Linked DNA regions of Homo sapiens: region 2 is linked to region 1. Evidence: promoter capture Hi-C in human tissues and cell types (Jung and others, 2019). All regions are on one chromosome and are shown on one strand. The core of a region is centred on a gene start or on the middle of the fragment in contact, and the rest is flanking DNA. Distances in the headings are between cores, read along the strand shown.

What was found. The method cuts DNA at HindIII sites, captures the fragments that hold promoters and counts their contacts. A contact is called where the count stands out against the background at its distance.
Region 2: a contact is called between a fragment that was not itself captured here and the fragment with the promoter of RAB6B in region 1, in 2 of the 25 tissues and cell types used here (IMR-90 fibroblasts and aorta).

What each region holds. Positions count from the first base shown.
Region 1 is chr3:133,894,632-133,900,007 of GRCh38, reverse strand. RAB6B (RAB6B, member RAS oncogene family) reads left to right here and starts at 4,126. Exons shown (of 8, transcript NM_016577.4): 1 at 4,126-4,611. The coding sequence starts at 4,542. RefSeq lists a silencer at 4,107-4,156. The HindIII fragment of the contact is 14,643 bases long and covers 1-5,376 here.
Region 2 is chr3:134,106,948-134,112,323 of GRCh38, reverse strand. No RefSeq gene overlaps it. Among named protein-coding and RNA genes, the nearest start is that of LINC02000, 52 kb to the right of the region's middle. The HindIII fragment of the contact is 6,872 bases long and covers 1-5,376 here.

The DNA.
Region 1 (5,376 bases), core at 2,877-5,376:
TTGCTACAAACAATAACCTGGGTGAATCTCCATAGAATTATGTGAAAAAAAAAATAGGACATGCAGTGGAATAGTAACCAGCAGGGAAAATGAAAGAACTGCTGCTACATGAATCAACAGATGGATCTCAGGAACATAATGTTAAGAAAAATGCAAGTCATAGGACAGAATATACAGTTTGAGACATTATATAAAATTCAAAAGATGCAAAACAAAAAAGTATTGTTGGAGGACACATCCAAATGTGATAAAAACTCAAAGAAAAGCCACAGTTCTGGATTTTCAAGCTGGGGAGAGAGGGAGGGGCAGAAACACCTGAGGGCCTCAAAAGTACTGTAATATTTGAGTGCTCCAGCCAGGTGAAGTGAAAAAAACAATCCCAAAGGGTGATATACTGTGTAATGCCACTTATATAAGATTCTTGAAATAACACATTTATTGAAATGAAGAACAGATTAGTGGTTGCCAGAGGTTAGGAAGGGGTTGAGGGTGGGAGGAAAGTGGGTGTGGCTATAAAAGGGGAACATGAGGGCTCTTTGTGTGTCAAGGTACAGAACAGAAATGTACCTTGACTGTCTTAATTCCAGTATCCACATTATGATACTGTAGTATAAAGTTCTGCAAGATCTTACTCTTGGTGAAAACTAGATAAAGGATATACAGATCTGTCTTTTTTTTTTTTCCTGTTTGTGAATCTACAATGATCTCAAAAATTTAATTTAAATATATATATATATATATATAACACAGCAAAGGGCTCAGGAAAACCAAGATCTTGAAGAAAATGAAAAATATAGATGATGCTGTAGTGCTATATGATCTAACGAATATCTTTGAAAAATAGTTTGGCACAAAATTAAACGTACACTTGTTTTTATACCACAATTTACCTACTGACACATATCTTAGAAAAACTTCACAGAGGCATCAAGAGACATGTAAAGAATGTTGATGGCAGCATTGTTTGTTAATAGCAGAAACAAAACTGAGTGCATTTTCCAATGTTAATTTCCTGGTTTTACTAAGCAATGTGGTTATGTAAGATGTTATCACTGGGGTAGCTTGGTGCAGGATACATAGTAACTCCCTGCACTGTTTTTTATAACCTCTATGTGAGTATAAAATTATTTAAAATAATTTTAAAAAAGGCCAGGCGTGGTGGCTCACACCTGTAATCCCAGCACTTTGGGAGGCTGATGCAGGCGGATCACGAGGTTAAGAGATTGAGACCATTCTGGTCAACATGGTGAAACCTCGGCTCTACTAAAAATAAAAAAATTAGCTAGACCTGGTGGTGCGTGGCTGTAGTACCAGCTACTCGGGAGGCTGAGGCAGGTGAATTGCTTGAACCTGGGAGGCGGAGGTTACAGTGAGCCGAGATGGCGCCGCTACACTCCAGCCTGGTGACAGACCAAGACTCCATCTCAAAAATAATAACAACAATAATAAAATAAAATAAAATAAAAATTTTAAATGACACATTTTACAGAAAATCATTTAAAAATTGGGGCATAACTAGAATACTAACCAGCAGTGAAAATGAAAGAACTGCTGCTACATGAATTAACAAATGGATCTCAGAAACATGATGTTAAGAAACATGCAAGTCAGGACAGAAAACACAGTTTGATACCTTATATAAGATTCAAAAGATGCAAAACAAAACAAAGTATTGTGAAGGACACATCCAATGTGATAAAACTCAAAGAAAAGCTAAGATTCTGGATTTCCAAGTTGGGGAGGGAGGAAGGAGAAGAAAGCACCTGGGGGCCTGAAAAGTACTATAATATTTGAGCCCTCCAGCTGTGTAGAGGGTAAATGGGCACTCAGAGTGATAGGTTTTCTTTGTAACTTACATATACACAGCACATACTAAATAGGAAGATTTAAAGAATTTTTTTAAATGGAATGCACAGATTCTATGATATGGAAGAAACTCTTTCTAGTGAGGTTGCCAGGCTGAGGTTCAGTGGCCCCATTTTCCACCTGGAGAAAGTCTGTCTGCTTTAGGGCAGGTTAAGGACAAGACTCAAAATCAGGGGAGATAAGCAATGATAGTTGGAGGAGAGAGACTTGGAGCAGAGCAAACTTGGAGTCTCTAAGGCTCTCATTTCCACAGCATGATGACTGCATTCTGAGAGCAATGCCAGTATCTGCTCCAGCGACGTGAGCCCGGTAGTCGGAGCCGGGTTTTTGTCATTTGAACTGGAAGAATTATGACAGAGTCCCCCAAAGTAAGCTGGACCATAGTCAGCCCAGCTGGACCTGGTAAGCATATGGGATGACTTGGAGGCTTAGAGGTGCCCAGAGGGGCCCTGCCCCAGCCCTCCCTCCCCTACTGCCATACCACCTTACATGTGCGGGACCAGATGATCAGAGGAGGTACAGGACCTGCCTAGGCTTACCCAAAAGATGGTGCCTTTTCTGGCACACCTCAGCTGTTTTGTCTTGCCACCGATGATCTCATCAGGTCAGGATGAGAGGGTACAGGGAGACAGCACTAGATGTTAGGAGAAGGTGCAGGTTGGAGGAGTGTTGCATGGCTGGGTACCTTGGCCAGTAGCTCACTGGCCCTTCTTTGGAGGGATCACTTATAGAGACGGGAAGGGCTGTGACTTGGGAGTCTCCTCTCCTTTCAGAGCTTTCTTCAACCCCAAGCTGGATATGGTCTCCTAAGAGAGCAGGAGCCCCAGAGAAGTGGGTGGGTGTCTGGAGGGTTACCCTGAGCCTGGTGCCAGCCACAACGGGGCAGATATTCTAGGTGATGACTTACAATCCCTGGGGTTCCAAACTAAAGGTAATTATGAGAATAGGACAGTTATTTTGATTTGAGTTCTAGATGTTCATTCAAACATTCAACAACTATTTCTTAAACTCTGAGCTATGTCCTTGGGATGCAGTGGTGGAGCTTCAACTACTGCTTTTATGGAACTTGTGGTCAGGTTTCTAACAAGAAATAGGAAAGAGATTCGAGGTGAGCACACCAGGGAGACAGATAGGCTTGCCCAAGCAAGCCCCATAAGTCAAAAAGGGGGTAACAAGTGTCCACGAGAAATCTGGAGGTGAAGGTTGTGTCTCACTCCTCTTTCTCTTTCTATAACACATGCGTGCACACACCATCGTGTTCACCGACATGCAGATTATTATCTCAAATAAATGCTCACTGAACAGCCATAAATGAACAAGACCACGCTGTGGCAGAACAGTAAGGGACAGCTTTGTAAAACCTCAATTAACCAGCATGCCTTAGGCTCGGGCTGTCTTGGGAGTGTTTCTAGCACTTGGCGTCTGCTCTTTGCTCTCACTCACTCACAACTTGGTCTGTGTGCCTCGATGGACCAGGCAAGTAGAGGCCAAGGAGAGGTCGCCCACATGTCCTCAGATAGCTCATTGTCCAGATACACCTAATTGCCAGGGTGGGGAGTGGCATTGTCAGCCTGGCGACCCCGGGATCAAGAAACGCAGGGCACTGTCCTGGAGATAGTGGCACTGGCATTCAGAGCGTCACCGTTCCTTCTCTCCCATGGGGCAGGTTAGGATTTGGCATAAAATGATCCAAATGAGCAGCTGGTTTGAGGTAGGCGCGCCTGATATTGGCAGCTCCTCTCTCGCTGGCCAGGTCTGCGGGGGCACCCACAGACTCCACAAGAGGCCGCCCAAATAAAGGGTCTAGGCCTCGAGAGGGAAGGGCGGGCTAGAAGCCACGGGGGGCAAGAGTCGAGCCCCATCTGCGCCAAGTACGCCAGGTTTCCCTAGGTCTGACCGCCCTGACGGGCCTCGCCACACCCTGGCTCTCCCCCACCTTCGTTCCTTTCCGCCCTGTCGGTCGGACGACTGCGCTGTGCATCGGTGTCTCGCGAGGTGGAGGAAGGGACTGGCATCTAGGTTTAAAAGACCAGAAACAAATGTCCCCTGACAATTTCTGTCATTTTCTGGATTCAAAAGAGGGGTAGAGTGGGGAAGACAGACGCAGCGGGGCAGCGAGACACGGTCCCCCCCGGGGGGCTCTCAGGGGTACGGCGAGGAGGTTCTCTCCTGCCCGGGTGCGGGCTCGGGTGGGCGGGCGCACGCCCCCCAGCCCCGCAGCCCCGCGGGCCCCGCATGACATCAGAGGCTGGGGAGCGCACAGAGCGCAGGCGCCGGCGGAGGAGGCAGGCGGGAGGGGGCCGACTGGCGCGGCTCTGGAGAGCGCTCCTCCGCCCCGCGCGCCGTCCCTGCGCCCCGCTCCGCCCGCGCCTCTCTCCCAGCGCCGCGCCTCGGGCGTAAAGAGCGCGCCCCTCGCACCGCAGCCAGTGCCGACCGCAGCAGCCCAGCCCCAGCCTTCCTCCGCCTCCGCCTCTCTCTCCTCCTCCTCCTCCGCCGCCGGACACGCAGCCGCAGGCCGGGACCGGGACGCAGCTGGGGAGTCAGGGACGCGCGCAGCCAGCCCTTCCCCCTCCGGCTCCCGCACCGCCGGCCGCCTCCCCTCGCCCTCCTACTCTCCCCTCCCTGCTCCTTCGCTTTTTCCTCCTCCTCCTCTCCCGGCCCCGGCTGCCAGCACCATGTCCGCAGGGGGAGATTTTGGGAATCCACTGAGAAAATTCAAGTTGGTGTTCTTGGGGGAGCAGAGCGGTAAGTACCCGGCTTAATCTCTTGGCTTGTCGCCGAGTCGACCCCCGCCGCCCAATCGCCCACCCCATTGGGACCCCCGGCCCAGGCTCGGAAAGGCCCCTCCTTGCCAGGGTAGAGGAGAGGGACAGGGATGGGGAGGTCGGGGCGGGGTCGGGCTGGGGAGGGGCCAAGGGTGAGGACGGAGGAGGCGCTGGAGCCTGGGGTGGAGGTGAGGGTGGGCTCTGGGTGGGGGGCCCGGGGTGTGGGTGCAGGTGCGGCGCTGCAGGGGGCCCGGAGGGCGGCGGCTGGCTCCGCGGCGCTGGCCAGGGCGTGAAGGAACCGGGCTCGCTGGCTAGCTCACACTGCGGCACCGGCTGCGGGCGACCGCGCAGGTGGCTGGGTGCTGGCGGGGGTGGGGAGAGCGACGGGCGCCCCCCTTGGAGAACGAAGCGAAGCTGGGGTCTGGCCGGGCCTCACTCCGCTGCACTGGAGGGGTGTTCCCTGCGGACCCTGCTGGGAACCATGCGAAAGGGCACGTCCAGGGCGTGGGACAAACAGCCACCGGGGAGAAAAGAGCGACACCTGTCTCTGCTCGAAAGAGCGAGTGCAGGCCATGGGGGAACGGGGAGCCTACCTCCCCTGGCTCACGTCCGACTGGGCACAGAAGGTTCTAGACCCGCTGCCCTTCGCCGGCGCTTGTTAGTCTCCTTGCTGCCCAGGGATCTGGGCAATTGCAGTGAGGGCTACCCCAACTCGAGGCGATTTGGGGAATGATACAGGGGCACC
Region 2 (5,376 bases), core at 758-3,257, 210 kb before region 1:
CAAATAGAAGTCGTGAGAGTGGGCACCTTTGTCTTTTTCCTGATGTTAGAGGAAAAACTTCTAGTCTTTTGCCATTGGGTATGATGTTTACTGTGAGTTTTTCATAAATGCCCTTTATTATGTTGAGGTATTTTCCTTTTATTCCTAGTTTGGTGAATTATTTGAATCATGAAAGGATATTAAATATTTTCAAATGCTTTTTCTGCAACTATTGAGATGATCATATGATTTTATCCTTCATTCTGCTAATATGGTGCATCACATTTATTGATTGGTATGTGTTAAACCATCCTTCCATCTCAGTGATAAATCCCACTTAATCATGGCATATGATCATTTTAATGTGCTGTTGTGTTCAGTTTGATAGTATTTGCCAAGGATTTTTGCAACAATATTCATCGGGGATAGTGATCCGTAGTTTTCTCATAGTGTCTTTGTCTGACTTTGGTATCAGGTTACTGCTGGCTTTATAGAATGAGCTTGTAAGAGTTCCTCCCTCTTCAATTCATTGAAAGAGTTTCCAGAGGATTGATGCCAATTCTTTAAATGTTTGCTAGAATTCTTCACTGAAGCCATCTGGTATTGGGAAGTTTTGGGAGTTTTTTGATTTACTCATTTAATCTCTTTATTCTTTATTGGTCTGATTAAATTTTGTTTCTTTATGATTCTGTCTTGGTGGTTTGTGTGTTTCTAGGAATTTATCCATTTCTTCTAGGTTATCCAATTTCTTAGTGTATAATTGTTCATAATATTCCCAATAATTTTTTTTTTATTTCTGTGGCAATGGTTGTAATGTCTCCCTTTAACTTCTGATTTTAGTGATTTGAGTCTTCTCTCTTTTTCTTAATCTAGTTAAGTTTTGTCAATTTTGTTGATCTTTCAAAAAACCAACTCATTTTCTTCCTTTGCTGGCTTTGGGTTTAGTGTGTTCTTCATTTTAGTTTCTTAAGGTATATAATTAGGCTTTCTGAATTGAGATCTTTCTTCTTTTTAATATACATGTTTACAGCTATGAAATTCCCTCATAGCACTTTCACTGCATTCCATAAGTGTTGGTATGTTGTGTTCTTATTTTTAATAGTTTCTAATTTCTCTTTTGACCTTGTCTTTGACACATTGGTTGTTTAAGAGTGTGTGAATTTTCACATTTGTGGACTTACTGTTTTCCTTGTTCTATTGACTTCTAGTTTCATTCCGTTGTGTTTAAAAAGATATCTTGTGTGATTTCAACCTTCTTGAATTTGTTAAGATTTGTTTTGTGGCCTATTACGTGATCTATGTTGGAGAATGTTCTATGTACACTTGAGAATAATGTATATTCTGTTTTTGTTGGGTAAATGTTCTGTATATGACAGTCATTATAAATTCTTTGTCAGGCAACTCATAGATGTGCTTTCCTTTAGGCTTTTTGGGGGAGGTTTATTTTGTTACTTTGATTGGGCCATGTTTCCCTGTTTCTTTGTGTGTCTTGTAATTTTTTGCTGAGATTTGGGCATTTAAAAAAAACAAACACCTCTTCCAGGCTTTGTATCAGCATTAGGCAGAGGAAGGTCTTCATCATTCAGCCCAGCTGGACCTCTCAAATAATTTCTGATCTCTTGCTATTCCTGGTATCTACCTGTAGAGCTATAGCTCTAATGTGATGCTTGCCTCTGTTTACAGTGGTTTCCAAAATCTTGCTCCAGTTTGTCAGCACTCTGAGTCAGGTGAGACAGAAACCAGTCCCTTGGGCAGGCCCAGAAAAGCTATAATATTGGACATATGTTCTGATCTATTTTTTTTTTTTTTTCAGATGGAGTCTCGCTCTGTCACCCAGGCTGGAGTGCAGTGGCTTGATCTCGGCTCACTGCAGCCTCCGCCTCTTCTGTTCAAGCGATTCTCCTGCCTCAGCCTCCCAAGTAGCTGAGACTACAGGAGTATGCCACCACACCTGGCTAATTTTTTTGTATTTTTAGTAGAGATGGGGTTTCACCATGTTGGTCAGGCTGGTCTCAAACTCCTGACCTCAAATGATCTGCCCGCCTCAGCCTCCCAAAGTGCTGGGATTACAGGCTTGAGCCACCATACCCAGCCCTGATCTTTTGTTTTTATTCTAAGGGAGGAGCTCTTGTATGGTGACAGTTGAGGGGGATTCCTCCTGCTTGCTCTGTGCTATGCAGGGGGAAGGGCATGAATAGCCCACCAAACACTGCAAATTTCCTACAGCTTTCACTGGAATCCCTTTTTGGTTTTACAATGGCGTGGGTGCTGTAGCTTTTCAGTTGGTCTCTGGAGTTCTCACAGAGGTATTCTGTTTCATATATTGTTGATAACTCAGTATATCTGTGTGGGAAAGAGGGTCTGTAGCTTCCTAGCCTATCATCTTGCTGATGTCACTTTCCTCATTTCTAAATAGTTTAAGGTATGACTTTGATTGAATGTTCTTATAAACCTCAAATAATTTAGGAAATTGAATTCTTGGCTGGGCGCGGTGTCTCATGCCTGTCATCCCAGCACTTTGGGAGGCGGAGGCAGGCAGATCACGAGGTCAGGAAATCGAGACTATCCTGGCTAACATGGTGAAACCCTGTCTCTACTAAAAATACAAAACATTATCCAGGTGTGGTGCCACGTGCCTGTAGTCCCAGCTACTTGGGAGGCTGAGGCAGGAGAATCCCTTGAACCTGGGAGGCAGAGGTTGCAGTGAGCCGAGATTGTGCCACTGCACTCCAGCCTGGGTGACAGAACGAGACAGTCTTAAAAAATAAAAATAAAAAAGAAAAGAAAAGAAAATTGAATTATTTTCAAGTAGGCGTGTGTGTGTGTTTGTCTGTGTGATTACTATTTTCTAATTATACTGAATTATGGTTAGCAAATATGGCATATGTGTTTCTTATTCTGAGAACTTTTGGAGATTTCCTTTGTGGCCTATTACCTGGTAAGCTTTTGTGGAAGTTCTATGTGTATTCTGTTTTTTGAGTACAAAGTTCTAACTTTATCTTTTGTACTAAGCTTCTTAATTTTGCTTTTTAAATTCTCTATATTATTATTTATAATTTTCAACCACATGATTGACCAGTTTCTAAGAGAAACTGAGGAATATTTTTGGGACTCAGATTTTTGGGACATATCTATTATCACTATGATAATAGATATGTAAATTTGGCCTTTTATACCTGCCAGTTTTTATTTCACGTATTGCAAAACATGTTTGGTGCATAAAGGTTTATGACTGCCATGTTTTCTTATTAATAAGGGGTATAATCCTTTTATTGTACTTCTTATCAAGTACCTCTTATTATACCTCTTATCAAATATCCTCCTCTGCCCCAGTTTGTGATTTTTACTGTTTTGACTGATACTAATAATGCTATACTTGCCTTCCTCTTAGCGTTTGCATGTTATATCTTTACCTATCCTTGATTGTTTTAGCAGGCTATGTTTTCAAAACTATGTAATTTTAATTTTAAAAATGTAACCCAATAGCCTTTTTAAAATAGGTGAATTTATCCCAGTTACATTTATCATGATTATTAATATCTCATTACAGTTGTTGATGCCTACCAGCCAAAGACCAACAGAAATAGGCTTGTCGTCAAACAAAGTTTGGTTTATTGGTACTTATTGCAACAAGGGCAACACCCCAAAGTTCCCCATGGTATGTGGTCTCCCTTGTTGCAACAAAGACCAATAATTTTGTTCAACGAAACCTGTGCTCCTGGTGGTCTTTGACTTGTGGATATCAACATAGTAAAGCGCTCTCTTTCTCTCTCTCTCTCCATCTGTGTGTGTGTGTGTGTGTGTGTGTGTGTGTGTGTGTGTGTGTGTGTTGTCTTTCCCAAATACATGCTATCTCTTCAAATGTTTCTTGCTACCTAGCTATCTTGGGAATCTATTTCCATTTCTTATCTCCACCCCTTAATCTCTGTTTCTGTCTTTATGTCTGTGTCTGTTACACACACACACACACACACACACACACACACACACACCCCTTAACTTGACTCTGCCACATTTAGTTAAGCCAGATTTGCTGGCCAGAACAATGTCTGCTGCCTTGTGAGCCTTGGAGTCGAGGGTAAGGAGGAGAGATGATGGATAGAGATTTGGCTCAGCAAAGCTTTCAAGAATTTTCCTAACATGGCAGCAAAGAATCATCACAACAAATGCCATCTCCCATCCTGATAGTTCTTGATAGCTGATGACCCTGTGACACTATGGGTTTAATCATACTCTTACTGCTTGGATTCGATTGTCTGTATAATTAGGATCAAAACAATACAGTTTGTACTTTCTTTTTTATCTCCACTTCCTTTTATAGCTTAAGATCTTGTGTGCCACAGAACCAACACCTTCACTTCTGATCTTTGGAACATTTGCACATTAGATAATCAGAGTCAGTCTGGAAAGGAAGAGGTAGAGACTGGGGAGAAATGAGACTGGGGCCTTGGACCAGAAACCAATGTGGGGTAGTTTTATTAAACTCTCTCACCTATATTCTAATCATTACAAAAAATGCCTTCCATCTACACTGTACCTTCATAGATACAACCTCTTTTGTTTATTGAAAGAACCCTGAGAAATAGACATGCAAAATATCAATGCGTCCATTTTATTGATTAGGGAATTAGAGTTATGATTGGATCCTTGCCTTGTCCACTCATTACTGCATGGACATGTGCCTGTTTGTGTACCAAGCCTTGGGGTTCAGGAGTCAATTAAACATGCTGACTGACTGGAAGAGCCAGCTGTGGTGAAGGAGGCTTACTGTTGATGATCCACAGTGTGATACAGCCTCGACCTGCAGGGCAGATGATACTGGAGGTGTGAATGGTTGTGGGCAGCTGACTGAGCCCCAAGTGCTCCCTGGGGGATCAGGGAAGAACATGAGGGAGGCCTTAAAGGTGAGACAGTGTTGCCAGAGAAAAGGAGGATGGGACAGGAAGGGCTTTTAGGTTGAGGGAACAGCACATATGGAGTGGAGCAGAGCTGGATCCAGGTGCCCATGGGCAGTTGGGGGAGGCAAGGCAGAGTAGCTGAGGCCATGGAGCTGGTGCCCTGGGTGTCTGTCCCCTTACCCTTGGCTAGTTCACCTTCCACACATTATGTAGCCTGGCAGTCTCCATCACTGGGCATGTTCCTAAAAATTTCCAGTATGCTCTCCTGTCCATCAGCAGCTCTCCATTCCCTGTTCTGTGTTCTGTCCCTCAGTCCTGGTGTCCTTCCCTAATTCCAGGGCCAGTCCTACCTCTAGACATTTTGATTTGTTATCCAATACAGTTCCTTGGATTATTTATACCAGGTGAGTCAGGTTTTGTTTGTTTGATTGTTTGTTTTATTTTGTCACTTACAACAAAAAAAGCCCCGAAAAACCACTGGAAAAATACCTGGTACACC